Regions from separate parts of the Homo sapiens genome. Here region 2 is linked to region 1. The links are contacts of gene promoters, found by promoter capture Hi-C in blood cells and fetal thymus (Javierre and others, 2016). All regions are on one chromosome and are shown on one strand. The core of a region is centred on a gene start or on the middle of the fragment in contact, and the rest is flanking DNA. Distances in the headings are between cores, read along the strand shown.

Region 1 (6,893 bases), core at 1,822-4,321:
AGATAGGTTTCAGTATTTTTCAGATTTAGTATGTATTGTTGTTACCGGAAAGGGGTCCTGATCCAGACCCCAAGAGAGGGTTCTTGGATTTCTCACAAGAAATAATTCAGGGCGAGTCCGCAGTGCAGAGTGAAAGCAAGTTTATTGAGAAAGTAAAGGAATAAAGAATGGCTACTCCATAGGCAGAGCAGCCCTGAGGGCTGCTGGTTGCCCATTTTTATGGTTATTTCTTGATGATATGCTAATCAAGGGGTGGATTATTCATGCTTCCCCTTTTTAGACCATATAGGGTAACCTTCTGACGTTGCCATGGCATTGTAAACTGTCACGGCGCTGGTGGGAGTGTAGCAGTTGAGGAGGACCACAGGTCACTCTCATGGCCATTTTGGTTTTGGTGAGTTTTGGCCGGTTCCTTTACTGCAACCTGTTTTATCAGCAATGTGTTTATGACCTGTATTTTGTGCTGACCTCCTATCTAATGCTGTGACTTAGAATGCCTTAACCGTCTGGGAATGCAGCCCAGTAGGTTTCAGCCTCATTTTACCCAGCTCCTTTTTAAAATGGAGTTGCTCTGGTTCACAGGCCTCTGACATTATGGGCTGTTAATATCTGAGACAGAACAAAGACATCAGGAATATGATCCATACACTTCAGACAGCTTCTTCATTGCATGAAAATGGAGCCAAACAAGCAAAGATCTGGTATGACCTCAGCTTTGCTCCTGGAATCACCTTCTGCCCAGTTCACACATTCCTGGCATGTCTTTCATTCTCTTGGGGAAGAGAGCAAGTGGAGTTGCCAGGTTACTGTTGATGAAGGGCAATTTTTAGAAGCAGAAAGTCAGCATCCTGTGCTGGATGATTCATCTTGCCCTCTGGGGCATGCTCTGAATGTTAAACAGTAACTATTTGTTGGTGATTAATCTGTTGGATTTTGCTCAACCCCTAATTCGAGTGTCCATGATGGATAGATCACTTTTTTCTTTACACTACTTGTCAAGTATAAAACAGATGGATAACATTTCCCTTCCAACTGATTCAGAAAAATATGTTTTTTGGTATTAAACTGTAAAAACAAAATGTATGTTTACTAAATTAGGTGAAAGTAGGGCTGAACTTTCAACTTTCTAGATCAACCATTACAATATGAAATTTGCCCCTAAACCCTGAAAGTTTTGGAATATGAGAAACGGGACCGAGAAATGTGTGAGTCCCATTTTTCAGCCTTTTCCTCCTTTTGCTCAGCAGACACTGAATATAATCCACAGGCAGTACAGACTTATTCTTCCAAAGGATTTATTATGTAATCTTGTACAAGCCTCAACTTTTCTCATTTATAAAATGGGAAAAATATCTTCCTTACCCAATTGTTGAGTGAACTGTGAAACATCCATATGTATTATTGTGTATCAGTACATATATGCTATTTTTGTAGTAGGCCTCCAGAAAATGGAGGCTATATACTGTTTCATTTCTTAAAAGGATACTTTCACTTGGTTCAAAGTTCAAAAGATAGTTATATATTGTATTTCTTGAAATCTTTTCACTTCTGTTCCCAGCCACACAATTTCCCTCCATGATCCATGTTTCTTTTGCATCTTGCCAGATATTTTATGTACGTCTAAAAGTAAAAACGTATTTTCCCCACTTTAACAATTTTACATAAAATCACACTATTGCTTGTTTTGCCTTTTAAAATAAAAATACATTTTTGAAATTGTTCATATCAGTACAGTTTCCTTTATTTGTTTTTAAACAATTGTGGCTTAATTTAGTCATAGCTGTGCATTTGTGTGTCTTTCACAGAGAGAAAAGCTATTCAGCTTAGTTATCTGTTATTATACAGTCGTGTTCTAACTTAATTACCAATCCTAACCCTTAACCAATGGATATTCATTCATCCATTCAGCAAATATTTATTGAGCCCCTACCGCGAATCAGGCGGTGCCTGGGAATCTGTATTCCCAAGAACAAAACGCAGCTCCCCAGGCCACATCTAGCGGGTAGGAAGCCGGGCAACCCCTCCGCCCGGTCCTTCCTCTGCAGCCTGCGAGCCCCACCCGGGCCGCGGTCGGCGCCAGCCAGGCGGGGCTGGGGCGGGGCGGGCAGAGGACGTTGGGGCTCCGCGCGTCCCGGCGCGAGTACTAGGACGCGGCCGGGGCAGGTGGGGGCCGAGCAAAGTAGGGCGCTGCCCCGACTCCCGGAGCAGCCGCTCGGTAGAGCGGGGTCGCCGGGGTGGGGAGATCCCCGAGGCAACTTCGGGGCATCAGTCCAGGGTGAGAGTGTCTACTCTCGCCCGGCTCTTGTGGCCTCCGCGCCGCGAGCGGCCCGCAGGGACTTCGGAGGCCACTTCCTGGACTCTCCCCTTTCCACAGATGGGGAACCGGAGGCCCACAATCGGCCCGGAGGAGTCAGGGCGGTGCTGACAGGGCTGGTTCACAGAGCGTGCAACAGCTGAGCAGACGGAACTCGATTAAGAAACCAGGCACGCCGGGTGCCCATCAGGACCTCGGGCAGCAGAGACTCCAGCCGCCGGGCGGGTGGTGGGACCGAGGGCGGGGCGGGCGGCGGGGCCCCAGCCCTTTAAACTCCCTGCGCGCGGGAACCGCGGCCCAACAACCAACGGCGGGCGGGGCCGAGCGGGGCGCGCGCCTCCACCGCCCAACGATCACCACCCCCCCCGACCCCGCCCCGCCGCTGTCCAATCAGCCGCCCTCTTGCCGCCCTCCCCGCCGCCCTTGTCTCCCTGGCCCGGACTAACCACGCGGAGGGACGGCGGGGCGGGGCGGCAGGCGGGTGTGTCCGGGCGAGTGGAGACGCCGCGCGCTCCACTGGAGTTTCGAACGCTGTTGGCCCTCCAGACAGAAAAAAATATAAGAGCGGCGGCCAATGGCGAGGTGGGAAGGACCCGCGCGCAGACCCGGCCCCGCCCCGGCCGGCTGGAAAGAAGGCCAGGCCTGGCCATTGGCTCGCGCCGCCTGTCACTCGCCGGTGCGGCCAGCGGGCAGCGGCCTCGCGGTGACTGGTTCCGCCCAGGCGCGAAATGTAACGCGGGAAAAGCCGGGGCAGGCACCGCGGCGGCAGGTTGTTATTTTTGGGGGCTCAGCGCCGCGCGTCCTGCTTTCCTGTCACCGCAAGGGCCGGGCCGCCCGCTGCTTCCCACCCCTGCAGCCTGCGCTGCGGAGTACAAAGAGCGGAGGGCGCGCTTGACCTGGGGCTGGGGTCCAGCCCTGCCCGCCGGTGCCGTCTGCTCAACTAGTTAGGTGGCTGCTGCGCAGGATTCCGGGAAACGTCAGTCTGCCATGAGCCGGCAGGACTGAGCCTGCGACTCGGAGCAGAGCGAGTGAGGGGCAGAGCGGTGCTCAGGAGTGCGGCCCGGGGCCGCCGGAGCTGGGGGTCGGGCCGGGCGATGATCCGGGGCTTCGAGGCGCCCATGGCGGAGAACCCGCCGCCGCCGCCGCCGCCCGTCATCTTCTGCCACGACTCCCCGAAGCGGGTGCTGGTGTCGGTCATCAGGACGACCCCGATCAAGCCAACGTGCGGCGGTGGAGGGGAGCCGGAGCCGCCGCCGCCGCTCATCCCCACCAGCCCCGGCTTCAGCGACTTCATGGTGTACCCGTGGCGCTGGGGCGAGAACGCACACAACGTGACGCTCAGCCCTGGGGCCGCGGGGGCCGCCGCCTCGGCCGCCCTGCCTGCAGCCGCAGCCGCCGAGCACTCGGGGCTTCGTGGCCGGGGCGCGCCCCCGCCCGCCGCCTCGGCCTCCGCCGCCGCCTCGGGAGGTGAGGACGAGGAGGAAGCGAGCAGCCCAGACAGCGGCCACCTCAAGGTGAGCGGCGCGGGCGGGCGGGCGGGCGGGACGTGGGGCAGCCGGGGCCCGTTAACGGTGCGGCGGGCGGGGCGGAGTTGAAAACGCGAGGTCGATCCGGCTACGGCGGGGGCTGCGGCTGACAGGATGCTGACGTCACTGCCGCGCGCCAAAAACCGGCCCCAGTCGGGGGGGGCCTGTCACGTGACAGGCGGGAGCGGCGCGGGAGACCGTCCTTGCGGCAGGTGCAGTGGGCGGGAGCGCGGCCCGGGGTCGCTGGGGAGGCCGGGTCAACGGCCACTGACATCCTCCCGGCGGGCTGCCGAGTCCTCAGTTCCGAGAGGAAACGAGAGGGATGAGGGCCTTGAGTTGTTCCACCGACTGCGAGAGGGCAGGGAGCGCACAGTGTTTGCTCCATTACTGCAGATCGCCCTCGCCCTGTTAAAAGATGCCCTGCAGAGACAGCCGAAGAGCAAGAAAGGACTTCTGGGCCTGTTCTGCGGCTGAAGTTGTGCCTTCGCTGCCTTTCATTTATCCAGCATACTACTTGCTAGGTGTTGAGAGCACATAGTGGAATGGGACGCTAAAATTGCTTGCAGTCTCCGACTGCTTAAAGCTGGGAAGGTCGTTACCACTGGTTCAAACCTATTTTACAGATCAGGCAGCTGGGGCTTACAGTGATTAGTGAGGCGACCTTCCCACGATGGCACAGCTCAGTAGTGGAAGAGCGGGGACTAGGTCGAGGTTTTGTGGCTTTTAGTCCTGCATGTGTTTGGGGTGACTTTCTGCTGACTTATACTGAACTCTGTAGACTGTAAGCTCCAGGTGAGCCAGGAGTATTTCTATCTAGAAGACTATATGACTTTACTACCTTACATTCTGTAAATGCTCAATAAAGGTGCTCAAAAAATATTTGTGTAATGAATGAATGGTGCTAACAGAAGGGTAATATCCAGGTTCCATTTGTTAAGTGGCTGTATAAGATAAGCAATTTGCAAGAGATAACAAGTAAATCACATAGTGGATAACTGCATCTGTATCAGCACATAATGTATAAGTTGAAACGAGTTTGATCATTTTACATGCAGTCACAAGGATGTTGAAACTACATTGTTTGGGTTTTGAGGAAATTGATATATTTTATGTGGCATTATTATTAAATAATTATAAGGTTATAAAACTATAGGTTTTTATACACTTCAGCTCTTGAAACTGCACCTCAGTAAACATTTGAAAGAACAGAACCTGGGCCGGGTGCGGTGGCTCACGCCTGTAATCCCAGAACTTTGCGAGGCAGAGGCGGGCGGATCACGAGGTCAGGAGATCAAGACCATCCTGGCTAACACGGTGAAACCCCGTCTTTACTCAAAATACAAAAAATTAGCCGGGCTTGGTGGTGGGCGCCTGTAGTCCCAGCTACTCGGGAGGCTGAGGTAGGAGAATGGCGTGAAGCGGGAGGCGGAGCTTGCAGGGAACTGAAATCAGGCCACTGCGCTCCAGCCTGTGCAAAAGAGCGAGAATCCGTCTCAAAAAAAAAAAAAAAAAACAACAAAAAAAAAAACCATAACAGAGCCTGGTGAGGTGGCTCATGCCTGTGATCCCTTCAGGAGGCTGAGGCTGGGGAATCACTTGAGACCAGGAGTTCAAGACCAGCCTGGGCAACATAGACCGCATCTGGCGGCCTGCACCTATATACGTAGCTACATGGGAGGCTGAGGCAGGAGGATCACTTGAGACCAGGAGTTTGAGGCTACAGTGAGACATGATAGCACCACTGCACTTCAGTCTGGGTGACAAAGCAAGACCTCAACTCTTTAACAAAAATTGAAGAAACTTGCCAGGTGCGGTGGCTCACGCCTGTAATCCCAGCACTTTGGGAGGCTGAGGCGGGTGGATCACCTGAGGTCCAGGAGTTCGAGACCAGCCTGACCAACATGGTGAAACCCTGTCTCTACTAAAAATATAAAAATTCGCCGGACGTGGTGGCGGGCGCCCGTAATCCCAGCTACTTGGGAGGCTAAGGCAGGAGAATTGGTAGAACTCGGGAGGCGGCGGTTGCAGTGAGCCGAGATTGCGCCATTGCACTCCAGCCTGGGGGACAGAGTGAGACTCCGTCTCAAAAAAAAAAAAAAAAAAAAAAAAAAAAAAAAAAAATGAAGAAACTAACGATAGAAGCGTTGATAGTATTGCTGAGTATTACTAAAGGCTACAGTTGCTGTTGGGCTGCCTCTAGGTATCCCCTAGTGAGATGTAAGATGGATCGGTATCCACCGGGTGGGTGGCTCACGCCTGTAATCCAAGCACTTTGGGACACCGAGGCAGGCGGATCACAAGGTCAGGAGATAGAGACCATCCTGGCTAACACGGTGAAACCCCGTCTCTACTAAAAATACAAAAAAAAAAAAAAAAAAATTGGCCAGGGGTGGTGGCTGGCGCCTGTAGTCCCACCTGCTCGGGAGGCTGAGGCAGGAGAATGGCGTGAACCCGGGAGGCGGAGCTTGCAGTGAGCCGAGATCGTGCCACTGCACTCCAGCCTGGGCGACAGAGCAAGACTCTGTCTCAGAAAAAAAAAAAAAAAAATTTGGATGGGTATCCTAGGTATTTTTGTGTTAACCATTTATAAGTTTTAGTCTTTTAAAAAAAACACTAAATTAGATTATGTAGTTGAACAATATAAAGGCATACATTCATAAGTTCTTGTGTAAGATTTTGCCTTTATGGTTTTATTCTTATAGATTAATCTAGTTCTGGATCACCCAAGAAGATTAATGTTATATAGATGAAATCTATAGGTATGTTGTTTTTGGCCTAAAACAGACTTGTCCTTACCCAGACATTTTATAAAAATTGCTAACTGTGGCCAGGCGCGGAGGCTCACGCCTGTAATCCCAGCACTTTGGGAGGCCGAGGCTGGCTGGTCACGAGGTCAAGAGATCGAGACCATCCTGGCCAACATGGTGAAACCCTGTCTCTACTAAAAATACAAAAATTACCTGGGTGTGGTGGCACACCCCTGTAGTCCCAGCTACTTGGGAGGCTAAGGCAGGAGAATCACATGAACCCTGGAGACGGAGGTTGCAGTGAGC
Region 2 (6,525 bases), core at 1,798-4,297, 1.2 Mb before region 1:
GAGGAGTTCAAAGTAGAGAAATAAGCAGTGCCAAATAAATACCCTTTCCCCTTTATTTTTTGGGGCTTGGGGAGTTTTTTTGTTTTGTTTTTTGACAGGGTCTTGCTCTGTCACCCAGGCTGGAGTGCAGTGGCGTGATCATGGCTCACTGCAGCCTCAACCTCCCTGGGCTCAGGTGATCCTCCCAGGTAGCTAGGACCATAGGCGTGCATCACCATGTCTGGCTAATTTTTTTGTAGAGACGGGGTCTCACTATGTTGCCCAGGCTGGTATGGAACTCTTGGGTTCAAGCAGTCCTCCCACGTCAGCCTCCTATAGTGCTGAGATATGGACGTGAGATACCGCACCTGCCCCCTTTCCCCTTTAAATGTGCTTTTCTCTTTAGGTTACGAGACAGTACAATAGAAGGAGTATGCTCGTCCCCATTCTTTCACTGAGTCACCATATGATTTTGGACCAGCTAGTGCTCTAGACCTCAGTATCCCTTCTTATAAAATAAGAATGTTACAGCTCATGCAATCTGGGACTCCAAATCTTGGACATATTAGCTCACTTGAGAGACCACCAGCCTGGTCAGCAGATCACTGTGTTTTTAGTAAATCTGGAATTGTAAGATTAACACTTCATACCACATGGGGGAATAAAGTTGTTGCTCTCACAGGTGGGCTGCTTTGTTTGAGTGACTTTATACCTTGTCATAATAAGTGATAAGGTGATGGGAAATGCCTTGCTAGCGTTCATGCTGGCAATGATAGGAAAAGAATGAAAACCGGGTATAGTCACATGTTAGAATTGCTCAGCGGTGTTGCAGTTTTATAATTAAATGCTTACACCTAAAGAAACACTTTTTCAGCTTAACATTCCTGCACATGGCAGGTATGCAGTAAGTATTTATCAATGTTGAATTATCTGGAACATTCTGGGCCCTAACTAGAGGTTTTTTAAGACTTCAGCTATTGTTATTACAAAACAGACCATCATTCTTATATTGGCACTTGTCTTATACCTGGAGATGGGACAGCAAGACTGTATTCTGTTTTGTTTCTCATTGGCTAGACCAGCAAAGGAGGAGCTCACTGTTTTCCAGAATTGCGTGTTGGTGTATTTGAAGAAATCGTGCCCATGGGGATCAGCCCCAAAAAGATCTCCTACAAGAAGCCTGGTATGCTTGCTTTTAGAAGATTGTGCTTTAATTCACAGGGACAAAACTTAATAGACAAATAAGAAAGCTAGGCACTGTGATCAGCAGCAGTCATGAGTCCTCTCTAAAGCAGCTGTGGGGTGGCTAACACTTGGCTGCATCCAGTGCTTATACTGTTTCTCTGTGGTGCTGTGGGGTTGAAGACTCACCTCTTCGAGTGACCTATCTTATTCCTCTTGGTGATGGTTTATCAATTAGTTGTTTGCTCTTTCCAAAGACAGCAAGCAGTTTGGGAAGAGTGTAATTATTACTTGTAAACAGTTCATTAGCAGAATAGAGCAAATAGGCCTTTTGCTACAGGAAACAAGTTGCTTTCAACACCACAGCAGTTTTCACTGTGCTCTAGAATGTTCTTTCCCCATCTTCTCCATGGTAAATGGTTGAAAGACATTTGTTTGGCAGGTTTTTGGGGGTTTTATTGTAGTTTTTACTATGAAAAATTTTAAACATTAAAAAAGTAGAGAAAATAATATAGTGAAGTTCTATGTACCTATCATGCAGCTTTAGCAGTTAACTGATTAATGGCCAGCTCTCACCTATACCCCATCCCTTCTCCCATCTTGGATTATTTTGAAAGCAACCCCAATGTCAGGCCATTTCATTTGTAAATATTTTTAGTAGGTATGTCTAAAAGATAAAAATTTGTTTTAAAAGATGCAAAACGATATCACATCTTAAAACATTTTAACTGATTCCTTAATAAATTATCAAATATCTAGTTGGTTTAGTCACTCAATTCCCGGTTGTCTCATACTTTTTAAGCTTCATTTCTATTAGGATTTAAATAAGGTTCATTCACTGTGATTCATCAGTATGTCTCTTTAAGTGTCTTTCAACCTATAGATTTGTTTCCATCTTTTTTTCCCCCCTTGCAGTTTATTTTTGAAGGAACTGGATCATTTGACCTTTAGAGTTTCCCATAATCTGGACAATAATAATTGTATTCCCAAGATATATTTCTCTGTCCTCTTTATTTCCTATAAGTTGATCATTAGATTTAGAGTAGTGCTAATAGAAGTATAATGTGAGCTACACAATTTTACATTTTCTAGTAGCCATGTCTTTAAAAGTAAAAAATAGATGAGATTAATTTAAATAATATGGTTTTCTTAATGCAGTATATCAAAAATATTATTTCAACATGTAATCAATATAAAAAATTATTAGTTTACTTTTTTTCATGCTAAGTCCTTGAGATTCAGTATGTATGTCACCCCTATTATAGCACAAGTGCTTGTCAGCCACATGTGGCTAGTAGCTACTGTATTAACAACCAGGACTAGAGACTTGATCAGATTCCAATTTGATTTCTTTTTCTCCCGCCACCAAGACTACATAAGCACTGTTGTCTTCTTTGATCAGGAAGCACAAAGGTCTGGTTGACTCCATGGTGTTCATTTTGTAATATGTAAAGTTTTGAAAGAAGTCTAAGAGTGAAGCCAGGGGGAAACGGGATTAGGATACAGGCATCTGGGAAAGAGACTCATGCATGGGGAGATGAGGGCCAGAAAGAGCTGTTGTCTGCTTACTGTTCCCATCTTAGCAGGAGGCAGTATGACTACAAACAGCTTTTCCTGGGCACTGCAGGACATTGCAGGCAGAGAGTGGGCTCTAGGCAGTGCTGTCTTGTTTTCACTTGAAGGAAGTTTAAAGGGACCTCTTTTTCTTTTTTTGAGACAGTCTTGCTCTGTTGCCTGGGCTGGAGTGCAGTGGCGTGATTTCAGCTCACTGTAACCTTTTCCCCCGGGGTTCAAGCGATTCTCCTGCCTCAGCTTCCCAAGTTGCTGGGATTACAAGTGTGCGCCACCACACCCGGGTAATTTTTGTATTTTTAGTAGAGATGGGGTTTCGCCACACTGGCCAGGCTGGTCTCAAACTCCTGACCTCAAGTGATCTGCCCACCTCAGCCTCACAAAGTGCTGGAATTATAGGCATCAGCCACCGCACCTGGTAAAGAGATGTCTTTTAAACACATCCATGCTGGTCACTGTCCAAACAATCGTTCTCAGGGCCAGTAGAACAACTGCAATCATAGCAGCAGGGAACAGGTTTGGTTTCCTGTGGCTTCCTGCAGGTAGAAGTCTTAGCACATTTCCATGCTTTTCATCCCATGTTTGTTTGTTTGAGATGGAGTCTCACTCTGTTGCTCAGGTTGGGGTGCAGTGGCGCAATCTCAGCTCACTGCAACCTCTGCCTCCTGGGTTCAAGAGATTCTCCTGCCTCAGCCTCCCGAGTAGCTGGGACTACAGGCATGCGCCACCACGCCCAGCTAATTTTTTTTGTATTTTTAGTAGACGGGGTTTCGCCATGTTGACCAGTTTGATCTGCAACTCCTGGCCTCAAGTGATTCACCTGCCTCAGCTTCCCAAAGTGCTGGGATTATAGGCGAGAGCTGCCTCACCCACGCCTGGCCTTTTTTTGAGACGGAGTCTCACTCTGTTGCCCAGGCTGGAATGCTCACTACAACCTCTGCCTCCCAGTTTTGTGTAGTTCTCCTGCCTCAGCCTACTGAGTAGCTGGGAGCTAAAGGAATGTGCCACCACACCTGGCTAATTTTTGTATTTTTAGTAGAGACGGGGTTTCACCATGTTAGCCAGGCTGGTCTTGAACTCCTGACCTCAGGTGATCCGCCTGCCTCAGCTTCCCAAAGCATTAGGATTATAGGTGTGAGCCACCATGCCTGGCCTACGTCCCATGTTTGAATCTCCCTTTTCACCCCACTCTTTTTGTATCCATGTAATTGTGTGACAGTACCTTATATAGAATCTGGCCTTACTACATTCTCATTACAACCATAACTCAGGCAGGTAGCAATCCAGATTCCTTGGCCTGGCTCTGGGCCCTCATCTCTCCTTGGTGTGGAGTAGTTTCATTGGTTGTTGGGGTTCCTCTCTGAGGGGAATGAGGCTCCTTTGGTGCTGTAAAGCTTTATCATGAGTGGTAGGTAACTGAGTCACCAGAGCCCCTGCCCATGAGGCATGGCTACCTCATAATGCAGATTCACCAAAAGTTCCTCACAATCTACTGAGATTTCTGGACCCTCAAAGATAGGGGAATATTTCTATCCTAGAGAGTTACAAGGCAAAGAGCCCCAGGAGACTGAGGTTCTCTCCTATTAGTCCCTTTGTATATATATTTTTTGAGACAGGGTCTTGCTCTATTGCCCAGGCTGGAGTACAGTGGTGTGATCATAGCTCACTGAGGCCTTGATCTCTTGGGCTCAAGGGGTCCTCCTGCATCAGCCTCCAAAGTAGCTGAGACTACAGGCACACACTACCATGGCCAGCTAATTTTTTAAATTTTTTTTAGAGACAGAGTCTCGCTATGTTCCCCAGGCTTCCCCTTGTATTTTAATACTTACCCATCTTCTAGCTTTCCTGTCTTTTTCTCTCCTTTACTTTCTTTCTCATATGTCGTTTCTGTTGTCCACCCCTCTTGCCCTTTTCTCTTTTACTCATGCACACACACTTAGACACATTCTTCTTGCTCCTTTGCATTAAAAATGTATCTATTCCAACTTTATTCCATAACTTTTTGCTCACACCTGCCTGTGGGTTCTTAGCCTTCAACGTGGGTTCGACCTTAATATAGAACAGTTTACAAAGCCTGTAGTCAGCCACGTACTTGCCCAGCTCCTCCATGTACAGTGACAATAGAGCAGTGGCCATTTCCTGACCTACCAGTGACCATACAATGGACCAGCAAATTCACATGGCAATTTAGATCCCAGTTGCCTGGTTTTTATCACTAGGGTTAGGCCAAGTATGAGGATGCAAAATTCTTTGACTAGTTATTTCTAAACTACCAGGTCTCCATTGCCCTCATTTTAGGAGGAGGGAGATTGAGGATACCTGGAATTACTGGAATTACTAAGTTATTTCATCATGATCATCAAGTAGTGTTCTTTTCAGACAGTTGTAATTATGAAGAGAAGAGATTTGGGTGGAAAGAAACAAAGCAACACGTAAGTCAGGCTGGGTGAGTCATGATTGGGTTTTGGTTTTTTTGTCTTTGTTTTAATATAATTTTTTTGGTTTGGTTTTAGGAATCCATTTATCCCCAGGTGAATTTCATAAAGAAGTAGAAAAGTTTTTATCTCAGGCAAATCAAGAACAAAGTGATACTATCCTTCTTGATTGCAGAAACTTCTATGAAAGCAAAATAGTAAGTAAAAGCCAGAACTGAGTTCTCTGAATTGGTAGATCTCCCCATTCCCACAGTGTGGTATATTTCCCAAGGGGACCTTGTGTGTGCCCACCTGTGGCCACATGGATCTCCTCCCAGTACTGGCAGCTTCAGAGAAAACCCAAGTCCTAAAACTCAGAAATCTGGTGAGAGAGTCTAAGAAAATATGAATTAAAGGCATCCAGGCACATAATATACTTTGTGACTCCCATGAGCCTGCCTTTGACATGTATCAAGGATCTTGCAAAGTTGCCTTTGGGCAGCCTCTCCAGTTCCCCTGAGGACCCTGGGAAGGTGACCCACAGCCCACAGCCTCGGTTTTAAGTTGAGATCTTGAAGTTGAAAGGTCAGAGTGGGGATGAGATTAGCAACTGGCAGGGGCTTCTTTGCTAAGTAGGGTTTGTTGGGTACAAAAAGAACCTTTGTTCCTACCAGGTATGTTTTTCTGATAATTTTCCTTTTGTTGCTCCTATGTTACAGGGACGATTCCAAGGCTGCTTAGCCCCAGACATCAGGAAATTCAGTTACTTCCCTAGCTACGTTGACAAAAATCTAGAACTTTTCAGAGAGAAGAGAGTGCTGATGTACTGTACCGGGGGCATCCGCTGTGAGCGGGGTTCAGCCTACCTCAAAGCCAAGGTGAGCCACCACCCCGGGGCACTGTGGGCATGGCAGTGAAGGAGGCAGCTCCACCAGCAGCTTACGTGGAGCTGTCCGCTGCCCCCAGTACTCCCCACCCCCAGGCAGCCAAAGCATGCCTTCACCCCTCGTATGGCTCCAGCATGGAGTTCGTAAGTACAAAATCTGAGGGTCTTTAATCTCAAGATATGAAAAACACTTAACAGTCATAGAGACTCATCAGATGTAAAAGGGAGAGATTAGTTAACATCTCCCTTTTCCTGATCCTTTTGCTTGATCCTGAGAAGAGCAAATTCAGTAACATTACATGTCCCAACAGGTGTCTTCCTATATTTAGGGGGCAGCAAAAATAGTTGGGCTTCCCAGGATCTAGAGGGTGAAGGCCCTGCCTGCTGTCATCACCCATCCCCCTAGGAGGCAAGATCTGGCCAGTTGGTGCCTTGACCCCTTGGTCAGCAATTCCTCAGTGTCCCGCAGTGGGAGCCAGGAGCCCCTGACTG

The links. The method cuts DNA at HindIII sites, captures the fragments that hold promoters and counts their contacts. A CHiCAGO score of 5 or more calls a contact.
Region 2: a contact is called between a fragment that was not itself captured here and the fragment with the promoter of ZNF367 in region 1, in 1 of 17 cell types (neutrophils). The highest score is 5.4, in neutrophils.

What each region holds. Positions count from the first base shown.
Region 1 is chr9:96,414,548-96,421,440 of GRCh38, reverse strand. It overlaps ZNF367 (zinc finger protein 367), which reads left to right and starts at 3,071. Exons shown (of 5, transcript NM_153695.4): 1 at 3,071-3,828. The coding sequence starts at 3,409. RefSeq lists enhancers at 1-190, 7-1,206, 1,723-2,256, 2,257-2,790, 4,265-4,504 and silencers at 1,925-2,194, 2,455-3,114, 3,225-3,364, 3,665-3,904. The HindIII fragment of the contact is 11,520 bases long and covers 1-6,893 here.
Region 2 is chr9:97,604,983-97,611,507 of GRCh38, reverse strand. TSTD2 (thiosulfate sulfurtransferase like domain containing 2) reads left to right here. Exons shown (of 10, transcript NM_139246.5): 6 at 1,057-1,162; 7 at 5,247-5,365; 8 at 5,867-6,025. Among named protein-coding and RNA genes, the nearest start is that of TSTD2, 25 kb to the left of the region's middle. The HindIII fragment of the contact is 2,164 bases long and covers 1,966-4,129 here.